Linked DNA regions of Homo sapiens: region 1 is linked to region 2. The links are contacts of gene promoters, found by promoter capture Hi-C in blood cells and fetal thymus (Javierre and others, 2016). All regions are on one chromosome and are shown on one strand. Each heading gives the region's core, a stretch centred on a gene start or on the middle of the fragment in contact. The rest is flanking DNA. Distances are from core to core; before and after follow the strand shown.

Region 1 (7,027 bases), core at 169-2,668, 350 kb before region 2:
CTACTTTCCTCCCTCTCTTCCCCGTGCAAGGCCCCCCTCCTCACCAGCACAAGGGAATTTGAGTATCACTCCGCCACAGTTTTAGACTGCACCGGCAACCTGCGAGGGAGTGACGCTCAGTTATTTGGGGGAGGGAAACTTCCAGACTAGTTGACTGAGCACCATGAGTCCAACCGGGAAGCTTTTCTATTCGTTCATTTGCACCTTCCGTTGATACTACTTTTCTAGGCTCAGTTCCAATCTCATTGGTGTGCGTACCAAAGCCAATTACAAATAGATCTAAACTGGGACTATTTTTTTAGCGGATGGATCTCAGAGGGGCCGTGCTTTTTATTGTTACTCATTAGAAACAAATTTTGGTCGGTGCTCCCTGGGCTGCTGGTCTTCTTTACCTTCCAGCTGCTCACAGAACAGAGAGTTTCTACATACAAGCAGAAGATGTGAAAATATTGGGAATAAATAAAGTATATGCTTATAAACAAGTAAGAAAATAAGTATATGTGCGTGAATACTTTATGTGTGTTATATACGTATAAGATCTGGGAGCATTCAGCAGGTATTGGTAATTATTCTATGGTATTATGTTATTATAATACAGCTATATCTCTGTTTAGCTGCATTGAATCCTATAATTAATGCCTCCTATATTGAGCTAATGTAAAAGGTATTGACTCTCATTGTAGTTGTGTTTCAGAAAGATTTAGGGCAGGGAATTAAATAAATTTAGTGCAGTGTTTCTTAGAATTAATATAAACACTTAATTGGAAATATTTAAATAGAGTTGATGGCAGCTGAATCGATATCTCCCATATAAAGACTTGAATGTTCCTTTGATAATTCTGATATATAGATTTTTTTTAAAGTAACAAAAGAACTAGAAAATACTTTCTGCGGACTCCTTGGAGAATCTTCAAGAATTTGATGAAGAATTCTTCACAACATTTCTATCTTCCTAGAATTAACCACTTTAGAGTCTTTCAAGGTTTTGGATCTATTTCACGAGGGCCCACTCATCCTTAGGTTCTGCTTAGCTCAGAGTGGATTTACAACTCCAGAAACTGTCTCCCCTTCCCAATAGCCTAGTGTACTATCAATTTGAATCAGTGTTGTATGCATTTGGGCATGTGTGCAAGGGCACTTTCGGGCCCATCTGTCTTATGTGGGAATAGTATGCCTATGTCTCTTTATGTGTAACCTAACAGTAAAGTTGAAAGTATATGATGCACAGTTGCTTAGGTCTTAGCGTATAGGTCTCTAAGGGGCTGTGTGTGAAGCTGTGGAGATACTTAGGGCTGTTGTGTGGAAAGGTGCCTGAAAGTGAGAAAGACTACCGGCTGCCCAAGGTAGGGGGGATGATTGACAGCAGACAGCCCCGCCCCTTTCCCCTCCATTCTTTCCTCTCCTGCTGCATGGAACTATCTCCTGAGTGCTGCAAGTTGTAACGGGCACCGCTGAGCCTGTTTCCCTTTGGAGCACTTCTTATCTAGAAGCAGTGTTTAGTTTCTTCCAAACTGGGCCACTTCGTCCACCTACTCTGTTCTGAGTAAGGAAACAGCCTCCAAGCATCAGCAGAGCCCAGATGAGCACGGGCCGCGGAGCCGCTTAGCAGTCTCCCGGGACCCAGCTCCGGAGGAGCCGCAAGCATGCACCCTGGGTGAGCTGTTGCTGCCCCGAGCTCCCCTCCTCTTTCTTACTTCGGGTTACTTTGCCAGGCCGGGACTATACTGGTACTTCTGTCACTGCAGAGAAATTGGGAGCAGGCATCCAAAAGGGTTCGGGGGGCGACAGGCAGACGCACGACCCCGAAGCCTAGAGAGCCCATTACTCACCCTCCCTCCCATTTCAGGTTGTGGCTGCTCCTGGTTACGTTGTGCCTGACCGAGGAACTGGCAGCAGCGGTGAGTCTCTTCTCACGACCCTTTTCCGTCCCCCTCCTTTGACCCTCTAACCATCCCCATCTCTAGTATTTATGTTAGGGGGTTGCAGAGAGTTTCACCACGAGACGGAGTCCACACCACTCCCCTTTCTAATGGGAGTTAATGAGATTCTTGAGAGGAATAGCACAGTGTCAAGTCAGTGTTTTTGGGACCAAGATATCTTCCAAAACTTCGTAACGGGTTGGGAAAATAAAAGTGGAAGACACAAGATGCACACATTTCTGAGCCTCTTCCCCAGACGACTTAAGATGACTAGCATCAATCTCCACGGCAGAAGAAACATAATTTTCCCTGGTCTTCAAGAACTTGAATTGGCACACTAGTTTGAGAGTGGGAGGAGAGCACAAGGAGTGGAACTTCAAAGTGCCGCAGATGCTATGGAAATGAAACTTAAGTACATGCTTAGAGTCGTTTGACAGTACCAGGTGACAACATCTGGATTCTTTAACTACCTGAATTGAACTGATACCACTAGGTGATGTTCAATTTCTGTCTGATGTGTCGTGTTACTCGTTTCTGCATCACCAGAAAGTTAAAAGATAAAGCTGTTATAATAGAAAAAAAAATCAAAGTTAACATTTCATAGGCTGTTTAGATGTCATCTATCAAATCAACTAGGGACTGCAGGTAAAGAAATTTCTGAAGACTTTTGGTCAAGAAAAGTTTAATGGGTCCCAGAAAGTATTGAAATCTCCAGTGGAATTACTAGGATAATTTCACAAAGATGGAGTGACCCAAATAATCAAAGATGCTGCAGTTTTCCAGTTTCACTAGCTACTTAAGCTGGCAGAAATAAAAACTGTTGAGTTTGAATACGAAGTTGTTCAATTGTTGAGTACTATTTCACTGCTGTATTTTTTTTAAAAATTCTTAATGATACCCAAAGCCATTCCCTATATAGATGAGAGATGAATATATATTCCAAATATTTATCTTGTGGGTTTTGATCATTTTAACTGATTGGCTCTGCTTTTTAATATTTTAAATATTTTTAAATACTATTATAGGGCCATACGTAATTCAACCTAATAAATCACCCAATGTGTTTATGAAAAAATGGATTATTTTATCTTGGCATATGATGTCTTTAAGAAAATACCAGAGTGAAGCTATTTTTCTTGTAAAGAGAGGAAGATGCCAGAAAACTTGAATACCAACATCTTGTGACCCCTTAACTCAATATCAGTTCCTATGTAAGTAAATTCTGGACTTCGTAAGCAAAGATATTGATCTAAGACTCTGTGTACTTCTCCATCTTATTCCTTCAATATACAAGTTTAGTTATGTATTACCTTGAGGCTCAATAACTACATTAATTGAAAATGCCAAGATTTGATTAGTTAACAATTCATCCAGGAATCTTGCCACTTGTAAAAGTGTCATGCATGGGCAGAATACCCTCAAGCAAAACTTTTATTTTTAGACTCTGGCTGATTTTATTCAGTGTACTTTTGGGAAAAACACTACAGATCATTCCAGATAGCTGAAGACTTCACAAACACTGCATCCTGTCACTTAATACCTTTAAAAACCACTTTAATGCTTGCAATTCTTTCAAGTATTGAAATGAGTCTCCAAAATTAAGCACTGCTTTGGTGTATGAGTTTTAGACTCTGTCTCATTGTTTTATGTCACCTGCTATGTCAGTATGATTGACCATGGTAAGTCTAAAATTGACCTTGAGTTCCACAGATAATACTTTATTTTTTGACTTATTTAAGTACACAGCCACTTCCTTCACTTGTTGTTTACTTATGCAAAATATCTTTGACATTGTAAAGCTACTTTTTTTCAGTTTTGGGGAAAATGACAAATATAAAGACAGTCACAGAATAAGTTATCAGAAGATGACTTTTCTGAAGGGTTGTTTTGTTTTTCTTTTACACTCTTTGCACGGGATTCTTATCTATACGGGCTGGTTCTCGTATTCTACACTCAATTCCAGTTTATCCTCATGAGTTTGTGTGTTTTTCACCCTTTGGATTGTTTTAAACATTTAAATTCTCTGTGCCATGTTTGACTAATATTAACGAAAATAGCTATTAAAAATAGATTGGCAGGAACTATGTTGTGTTTTGCTATGAGAAAGTCTCTTTACTGTGAGAATTAAGCTGCCAATAATATTGGCAAGCATTTAAAGATTGGGTCATTTAGGGGCTTTTGGGCTCTTTCTTTTCCTGAGTTTACAAAGCACATCTATATAAAGTAAAGGAAAACTAAATGTTAAAATCCATGTTAAAGAATGAGCTTCCATTAAATTTACTTTAAAGGAGTAATGATCTTCATTCAGGTGAAATATTTGCACAATTTATCTGCATAAAATAGAATCTAGGATCTCAGAACATCCATGTCTTTGGCTGTTAGGCGCCTAACTATCTAAGGGGCTGTGCTAGGCCACGCACAGCATGCAAAGATTTATTTAAACATAGTTCCTAACTCTCTAGGAATTTGCTTTCTCAGACAATGGTGGTCATTATGTTCCTTAGAAGATAGGATGCTTAATGATAAGTTATTATCTACATGTACTTGCATCGTGTTAGCGAAATGTCTAGAAAGATACAAATCTCACCATCAGCCAATATATCTAGGAAAAAACATATATCCCGAAGTAGTCAGATCCTTATGTTTTCTTCACACTTTGCCCCCTCCAAATGAGCTTTCAGGAAAAGGTCTAATACAATCAAGCATACTTAAAGTCAAAAGCCTAGGGGGATACTTATTTGGGTTGGGAGGAGGGTAAGGAGAGAAAACATTTCTATTGTTCCTTCTGCAGAGAGCATAGGTAAAATGCCTTTAGCTGCACTCAAATCAAGGTCTGATTGAAATATCAACTTCTTTCTTTAAAGTTGTAACATGCCCAGGTTGGTCCTTTCTGCTGTGATTTTCAGTCGTATAGTAGTCATCAATATATGAATATTATGTTAAGGGAGTTCAGCGATGGAGACGATCTCTTCCAGTTCTAAAGACCAAGAGGAATATTTGCATTATCTGGGGCTGTGTCTCTATAAATCCTTAAAGTACTCTTCTACTTTACCTGCTAGCAAATATCCTATATCAGCTAGCTATGAAAAATCACAACATATAATATACGTGTGTGTATGTGTGTATATAAATATATAATATATATATATATATATCTTGGGATGACTAAGGATACTGATAGAAATGTATGAGTACACTATTAAGTAAATCATCAAATGACTGTAAATAGATAATCCATAGATGATAATATATTTACATTATTTATAGGTGAAATTCAAATATATTTTAAGATAGAGGAGGGGATAATAGATGTTATTATCTAAAGTGTTACTAAAGAAGCAAATATATAACCATTTCAAAAATTGTTTTATTATACATTTTAATGATTGTATTTCAGTGTAATCAGTTTCCATTGTAATCCTATGTATTTTATTGTATACTTCTAAAACTAGCAGGGTGCTGTGGTGTGTGCCTGTAGTCCCAGCTACTTAGGAGGAGGCTGAGGCAGGAGGATTGCTTGAGAACAGAAGTTTGAGGCTGTGACGCACCATCATCGTGCCTGTGAATAGCCACTGTACTCCACCCTGGGCAGCAGAGTGAAACCCTGTCTCAAAAGGAAAAAAAAAATAGTATTCTAAAAAGGAGTCCATAGGCTTCACTAGACTGCCAAACTATGGCATGAAAAAAGTACCCCTAGTTTAAGAAAATTGGTTTTACAAAAACAGTCATTTTCTAATGTTTGTTCAGGCATGAGGGGAATTGTGTTGACTCTAAGTGCCAACAATCTTTTAATTTTTAAGCATAGTTTGGAGTCTTCAATAAATATGCTCCTATATTCTGTAAGCTCATAATCAAGCCATATGACTGGAGTAAAGTATACTGTTTCCCTTATTATCTCATTAATAGAAAAAACTGATTGACCTCAATTATTAATATTGGTTTTTATTTGCCTGAATTATATGGATTATTTCATAATTTTACCACAGGTGCAATTATGGTACACCACAGCCTCAAGCAATCCACCTGCCTCAGCCTCCTGAGTAGCTGGGACTATAGGCACACACCACAGCTCCCTGTTAGAATAATCTTAAAAGTATGGCTGGGTGCAGTGGCTCATGCCTGTAATCCCAGCAGTTTGGGAGGCCGAGGTAGGTGGATTGCTTGAGCTCATGAGTTCAAGACCAGCCTAGGCAACATAGTGAAACTCCGTCTCTACAAAAAATACAAAAATTAGCTGGGCATGGTGGTGCACGCCTATAGTCCTATCTACTGGGAGGCTGAGGTGGGAGGATGGCTTGAGCCCAGGAGTTGGAGGTTGCAGGTGAGCTGAGATCATGCCACTGCACTACAGCCTGAGCAATAGAGCTAGACCTTGTCAAAAAAAAAAAGAGAAAAAGAAAAGAAAAAGAAAGAAAAAACAGTATACAGTAATATACTTGGAGTATAGACTTGTCTTATACTGTGTAGGTGACAAGACATACACATAGAAAAAGAACATCGTGGGATAACATCAGGCTATATTAAACTATCAAGTCCTTTATAGCTGCCTGAATGTCCCAGTGAGGCAGATCATAGGGCTTTTACTTGGTTTAAAGTCTAATTAAATGTAAATAGAAGACCTGATAAGCATGCTCAAGGGAAAATAGTAATGGGAAAATTAGCTAAGAGCAATTATCAACTCTCTTTCTTTAATCTATCCCTTTCCTAGGGTTTCTATTTTTCTTCTATAAACAATATTGAATTCTCCTCCGTTATAACAATGAATTTAAACAAAATCACTTCATTTACTTTAATAACTCTAACCTCTTCAATTGCATTACCCCCAAGTTCCTGGGTATTGTCTAGTCTTCATCACCAACCACTTACCCTTCAACCTATTATAGTCTCAACTGAGTCTACTCCAGGCAAACAGCCCTCTTTCAAGCTACTAATGGCTGCCTAATTACCAAACCCAATGGCTTATTTGCAGTCCCCATTCTATCTGACTTCACTGTGTTATCTGACATTTCCCAGTTACTCTGATACTTCTTTATCCCCTTGTTTTTTTTTAATTTTGTTTTGTTTTGTTTTTTTGTTTTTTTGTTTGAGACAGAGTCTCACTATGTCAC
Region 2 (7,129 bases), core at 3,330-5,829:
TCACAAGTCAAAACAATAAAACCACAATTAAATACCACTTTATACCCACTAGAATGCCTATAATCAAAAAGATAGATATTAATAAGTATTGGTAAAGATATGGAGAAATTTGGCTGGATGTGGTGGCTCACGCCTATAATCCCAGCATTTTGGAAGGCCAAGGTGAGCAGATCACTTGAGGACAGGAGTTCCAGACCAGCCTGGCCAACACGGCAAAACCCCGTCTCTACTAAAAATACAAAAATTAGCCGGCACGGAGGTACATGCCTGTAATCCCAGCTACTCAGGAGGCTGAGGCACAAGAATCACTAGAACCTGGGAGGCAGAGGTTGCAGTGGGCTGAGATCATGCCACTGCACTTCAGCCTGGGCGACAGAGTGAGACTTTGTCTCCAAAAAAAAAAAAAAAAGAAAGAAAAGAAAATAAGAAAAAAAATGTGGATAAATCTGAACCCTCGAACATTGCTGATGGGAAGGTAAAATGGTACGGCCACTCTTGTAAAGAGTCTGAAAGTTTCTCAAAAACTTAAACAGAGTTACGATATGACCCAGCAATTCCACTCCTAGTTAAGTACCCAGAAGAAATAAATGAAATCTCAGCTGGACATGGTGGCTCACACCTGTAATCCCAGCATTTTCTGAGACCTAGGTGGGAGGATCACTTGAACCCAGGAGTTCGAGATCAGCCTGGGCAACATAGTGAGACCCTGTATCTATAAAAAATCATAAATTGGCTGAGTGTGTTGGTGCATGCCTGTAGTTCCAGCTGCTCCAGAGGCTGAGATGACAGGATTGCTTGTGCTAGGGAGGTGGAGGCTGCAGTGAGCCGTGATCGTGCCACTGCACTCCAGCCTGGGCAACAGAAGAAGACCCTGTCTCAATAAAAAATAAAATAGGCTGGGCACAGTGGCTCATGCCTGTAATCCCAGCACTTTGGGAGGATCACCTGAGGTCAGGAGTTAGAGACCAGCCTGGCCAATATGGCGAAACCCTGTCTCTACTAAAAATACAAAACTTAGCCAGGCGTGGTGGCATGCGCCTCAGGAGGCTGAGGCAGGAGAATCGCTTGAGCCTGGGAGGCAAAGATAGCAGTGTGCCAAGATCGTGCCACTGCATTCCAGCCTGGGTGACAGAGTGAGACTCTGTCTCAAAATAAAATGAAATAAAAGTTAAAACAAGAAGCAAGATATCTATTTCCATAAGAATTTGCAGCATATATATTTTCTGAATTCAGACTACAGTTCCAGCAGCAGTTTTTGAACCCTGAAGCAAGTGCAAAGGATATTCCATATTCCAAAATCCCTTTAACTGTGCAATTGAGCAGCTTTCACCAAACTTTCAATTGGAAGTGATTAACCTGCCACATAATGCTAAAAGGCACTATTAAGAGAAGAACAGAATTCTATTCCACGCAATGAATATGCTCAATTAAAATCATGTTTGAGGATAGTGTATGATAAGAATGTGGTACTTGACCTCTGCAGACTTTCTTCCAAACACATAATGCCAGTCTAAGCATAAAATTGAGGGGTTTTCTACAAAATACCTGACCAGTACTCCTTAAAACTATCAAGGTCACCAAAACAAGAAAAGTGTGAGAAAGTGTCACAAACCAGAAGAGGCTAAGGAGATACAATGACTAAACGTAATGTGGTATCCTGGATGGGACAGCATCTCTAGAGATAAACTAGTGAAACTTGAAAAAAAAAAGCATGGGGTATAGTTAATAGCAATATACCACTGTGGGCTTATTAGTTGTGACATAGATAGCATAGCAATGTAAGACGTTAATGATAAGAGATTCAGCAAATGGTGCTAGGACAATTTCTACATCCACATGCAAAAAGATGAATTTAGACTCTCACCTCACATCACAGAGAAAAAATGAACTCAAAATGAATCATAGACTTAAATGTAAGAGATGAAGTAATAAAGCTTTTAGAAGAAAACATTGGAGAAAATCACTGAGACCTTGCAATTAGGCAAAGACTTCTTAAGTACAACACCAAAAGAATGGTCCATGAAAGAAAAAAAAATGATAAATTGAACCTCACCCAAATTCAAAACGTTTTCACTTCAAAAGACACCATCAAAAAAAGAAAAAGGCAAGCAACAGACTGGGAGAATATATGTGCATATCATATATCTCTCAGGGACTTGATCTAGAATATATAAACCATCCTTACAACTCAACACTAAAAAAACAAATAACTCAATTTAAAAACAGACAAAAGATATAACAGACACTTCACTGAAGAAGATATATGAATGGCTAATAAGCACATGAAAATATGCTCACCGTATTATAAATTATAATTTATAAATTAAAACCACAATGAGACACCACTTCACACCCACTTAGAATGGCTATAACAAAAAACACAGTAAATAACAAATGTTGGCAAGGATGTGGAGAAACAGGAACTCTCATACATTGCTAGTGGAAGTGCAAAATGTTGCTGCCATTTTGGAAAACAGTTTTGCAGTTTCTTAAGAAGTTAAGCATAAATTTTCCCTGTGATCCAGTAACTCCACCCTTAAGTATCTATCAAAGAGAAATGAAAAAAATATGTCCGCACGAAGACTTACATACTAATCTTCTTAGCAGCACTAGTCATAGTAGCCAAAAATTGGAAACTGATGTGCCTATCTAATAGTGAGTAGACAGATAAAAATGTGTTATATCCATAAAATGGAATACTATTCAGCAATAAAAAAGTAAGGAAGTACTGATACATACTACAATATGGATGAATCTCAAAAATATTATGCTAAGTGAAAGAAATCAGACACAAAGACTGCATATTGTATGATTTCATTTATATAAAATGTCCAGAATAGGCAAATTTATAGAAACAAAAAAGTAGATTAGTGGTTGTCTGGGGCTGGGAATGGGACAGAGGATTGATTAACTATAAATAGGCATGAGGGACCTTACTGGAGGGATCAAAAAGTTCTAAAACTGATTTATGGTGATGGTTGCCCCACTTCAGTAAAGTTACCAAAAATCATTTAATTATGCACTTGAAATCAGTGAATTTTATGATATGTAAAATGTGCCTCATTTTGAGTGAGTGTTATACAGGAACTCTACTAACCTTGCAACTTTTCTATAAATCTACAACTATTCTGAAATTTTTGAAAAATTAAATAAAAATAAAAATAAAAAAGTATATGTTTATGAATTGATATCAGTATTTGGCAGTACCTATCTATGTAAAATGACATTTTCAAAGATTAAATAGGTAAAAATTTCCTAACAGATCAGCATTAACAGATGAACACTTAAAATCAATTTTGACAATAGGGAACACTAATTCTGAGCCCCAATTAAGCAAAATATTATCCCCTAAAAAGAATTCTATTCTTCTCATTGGTAGTCTTCCTGTATTACAAAAAAAGTACTCAATTACTATTATATTTTGAATTTCATCAATAAAAATTTGTTGAAATTTGTTTTCTCTTTTGTCATAAAAGTACCAACAAAATATTCTTGATTTTGCCTTTTGGCCTACAAAGCCTAAAATATTTACTATCTGGCTCTTTACAGAAAGTTTCCCAACTCCTGTTCTACACTATAACAGGATAAACATAAACATCATGAGTCTCTTTCTTGAATGTATTCTTATCGTTACCTAGTTGTGGCATAATGTCCTCTGGATATGCCCTATAAAGGATCAGTCTTGCATTGCTTCTGCTATGGCACTATTTGGGATTTCTATAAAAAGAAACACTATTAGCTTAATAGTTGTAGCAAAGCCTTGACAACATAGTTAATATCGTGATATTAAAATGCCAACACCACAGCCCGGTATCCTTAAGATGACCCTCATCAAGCTGTGATGTCACCAGGCTATGGACTCACCGAGGTCTCTTAGATATCAGGTGGCTCCCACGGCATCACACCCTGCCTTTGGCATCACCCTGGCACATCACCTCAGTACGGTGCCATATGCTATCACTGCTGTGGTAGAACCCTGTCCTGATGCCACACCGCCGAGATGTCAGAGTAATTAACCCCCACTTCTTTCCACTCCCTAGGCGGTGGCAGGGAGGGGGAGGGTAGCCACAGTCACCGGTTCGAGCTCAGTAGGTAGTACTCAGCTCCAACCCTTGTCCCTTCCGCCTGCCACTGCAGGTCAGGAACCCCGGGGGACAGGACCTTTAGGCTCTCATAACTCTTGCCCTGCCCCCGAACCTGTTTCATATGGCCGACTCAACGACCCGCCAGCGACTACCCACCCCGGCTCTTTCACACGGTTCCACTCAAAGCCGCTCCCCGTACCTGACTCCATTCTCCAGCTGTCATCCTGGGCCAATTCCACCGGCAACTTGACTACGGACGGACGGTCGCTAGGATCCCTGGGACTTGTAGTTCTGCACTGCTAGGGGCCAAGTCTGTGAGGGCAGCAAAGGCGCCTCCCTGCCCGGAACTGCTCTCAAACTGCAACTCCCAGAGGCGCCGCGCGACGGGAAAAGAAAAGGGAACGAGGAAGGCCGGTGATTGGTGAAGCTCTAACGGCTGTTTTGACTGGCGTAGCCGGAGCCGGCGACGTGAGGCGGGCGTTGCTCGCGCGACAAGTAGTTGCTGGGACAGCGAAATGGAGGGGTGTGTGTCTAACCTAATGGTCTGCAACCTGGCCTACAGCGGGAAGCTGGAAGAGTTGAAGGAGAGTATTCTGGCCGATAAATCCCTGGCTACTAGAACTGACCAGGTAAAGCAACGCTAGGTCTCTCCGCAGTCGGCGACGTCGGCGAAGCCCTACGTGGCTTTCGGGGCCCGGCCCTAGCGGAGGCCCCGTTTCTGAGAGAAGCAGAACCCCGCCCCCGCCGCCCCAAGCAGTCCCCCTGGGTCACCTCGGGACTCGCGATAGGCCTGCGGGAGCTAGCCCCACAGACCTCAGATATTTTCCCGTTGGCCCGGAGCTCCGCTCCCTGATTTTTGGATAGTTCTAGAACGTCTACCGCATTTCTCAGAAACTCCCAATCAGTGAAAAGGAAGGCTTTTTATATGGATTTATTTACCTTTACTAGTAACTGTATTCAGTAACGCATGTGAAATTGAACGCCCCTTCCGTGCCAGGCAGTTTGCTAGGAGCTGGGGATACGGTGGAGTGGAAGATGCAGACAATAAAATAAGCACAAAAACATGTCCGATTACAAATTGTGGTAAATACTCGGCAGAGAAGTTTACATGGTGCTTTCAGAACACGTTAATAGGAGGATCTGATGCTGAATATGACTGTCGTTAATTGGAAAAGTTTTTGCAAAGAAGGGAAGGTTAGTTAGACTTTGAAGCATGAGTGGGATTTCCATGGGGGAATGAGTGGACATTCTAAGCAGAGGTAGACAGAAGTTTAGAAGTGTTTCTTTCTGCCCTCCTGCTCACAGGACTCTCGTGCTTTCATCCTCAGTTTCTAGGATTCATGGTGCCTTTAGTAAGCCCACAAATATTTATAGATGGCCTTGTGTTTCGCAGACAGTGTCGTAAGCACTAGTGAGACTGTCCCATACTTACAGATCTCCATTTTGTGTCTTTTGGGAGAGAATTAGAAATCAAGAGACTGTTTTCTCTTTTCTGGAACTTTCCTTTATTACTCAACCTGAAAATGGCCTTATCTTTACCTGGTTTACTTCATTATGGTCTGGTGATATTTAAGGATTTAAATTTAAATGTAATACTTTATATTAAGATTTAATACTCCATTGGAAATTTAACCATTCTTCAGTCAAGTCAGTGGCTTAAAAAGGGAAAGGAACTATTCAGCATCAAGAGACGTAAAAAACATGAAGAAATGCAATTTATGGATCTCGTCTGGTTCCTGATTTAAACAAACCAACTGCAAAAAGACATTTGGGAGACAGTTGGGGGCAATCTGAATACAGACCGGATATTAGACATTCTAAAGGAGTTAGTGTTAATTTTAGTAAGTGTAATAATGGTCTCATAGTTATATAAGAAATACCTTTATTTTTTACATACTGAAAGAGAAGGGTGAAAAGTCATGATATTTAGGATTTGTTTTTGGAAAGCTCAGCAAGGAAAAAACTAGTTAAAGCAAATAGGGCAAGATGTTTGTTGTTAAATCTAAGCAGTAGGCCTGTGGGTTTCTATTCTATTCCCTCTATTTTTGTGTTTGAAATTTTTTTGTAATAGAGTTTAAAATACCATTTTCTATTCTGTGGGGCTAAGAAGTATAGCAGTCACTGCAAATAGGGATTCCCTTTGACAAATAATGACTACTATAGCTTTTTTAATTTTTATTTATTTTTATTTATTTATTTTTTGAAACAGAGTTTCGCTCTTGTTGCCCAGGCTGGAGTGCAGTGGTGCCGTATCACCTCACTGCAACCTCTGCCTCCCGGGTTCAAGCGATTCCCCTGCCTCAGCCTCCCAAGTAGCTGGGATTACAGGCGCCTGCCACCACGCCTGGCTAACTTTTGTATTTTTAGTAGAGACGGAGTTTCACCATGTTGCCAGGCTGGTCTAGAACTCCTGACCTCGGGTGATCTGCCCACCTCAGCCTCCCAAAGTGCTGGGATTATAGGCGTGAACCACCGCACCCGGCCATAGCTTATTATTTTTTATAAAAAGTAATTTTCTTGTTTTCTGTGTGTTGTGTTTTCTAAATTATATTTCTAATTTATTTATGATTTTAAATTCTAGATAATTTCAACTAGTTTAATGAACATTTCTTCCCCCATTAGATTCATGTGTTCCTTCTACAGCATCTAACTTGAGGTCAGTGTGGTAGTAGAGATTTCAGAGTCAGAACTTCACTGACAGTTGTGCCCCAACTTCACCATTTAGTATCCATATGACCGTCCACAAGTTGCTTACCCTGAGGAGTTTTAGTTTCCTCATCTGAAAAATGGAGATAATAAGCACTGTGTAGAATGGTAGGAATTAAATGATACTATACATGTAAAACTCCCAGCACAGTGCCTGACATAAAAGTACGTAAATAATGTAATAGTAAAACAACCAAAGATGTATTTCTGTCAAAGCATTGAAATCAGTTTCTTGCTCTACTACTTTCCTTGTCGTATTCTGCCCAGAATTACGTATGTTCATCAATGTCATTCTCCCCATGTTACTTAAACCTTCATCTGTCTTATACCAGTAAGTA

Evidence for each region. Contacts are between HindIII fragments. The CHiCAGO score rates a contact against its expected background, and 5 or more counts as called.
Region 1: the fragment with the promoter of COL4A6 here is called in contact with the fragment with the promoter of PSMD10 in region 2 in 2 of 17 cell types (fetal thymus and erythroblasts); the score reaches 7.3 in fetal thymus.

The regions. Positions count from the first base shown.
Region 1 is chrX:108,432,813-108,439,839 of GRCh38, reverse strand. COL4A6 (collagen type IV alpha 6 chain) reads left to right here and starts at 1,418. Exons shown (of 45, transcript NM_033641.4): 1 at 1,418-1,654; 2 at 1,847-1,898. The coding sequence starts at 1,644. COL4A5 (collagen type IV alpha 5 chain) reads right to left here and starts at 2. Exons shown (of 53, transcript NM_033380.3): 1 at 1-2. The HindIII fragment of the contact is 13,330 bases long and covers 184-7,027 here.
Region 2 is chrX:108,088,992-108,096,120 of GRCh38, reverse strand. It overlaps PSMD10 (proteasome 26S subunit, non-ATPase 10), which reads left to right and starts at 4,579. Exons shown (of 5, transcript NM_002814.4): 1 at 4,579-4,714. The coding sequence starts at 4,601. ATG4A (autophagy related 4A cysteine peptidase) reads right to left here and starts at 4,343. Exons shown (of 13, transcript NM_052936.5): 1 at 4,285-4,343. The coding sequence starts at 4,294. RefSeq lists enhancers at 4,141-4,380, 4,431-4,830. The HindIII fragment of the contact is 5,520 bases long and covers 1,937-7,129 here.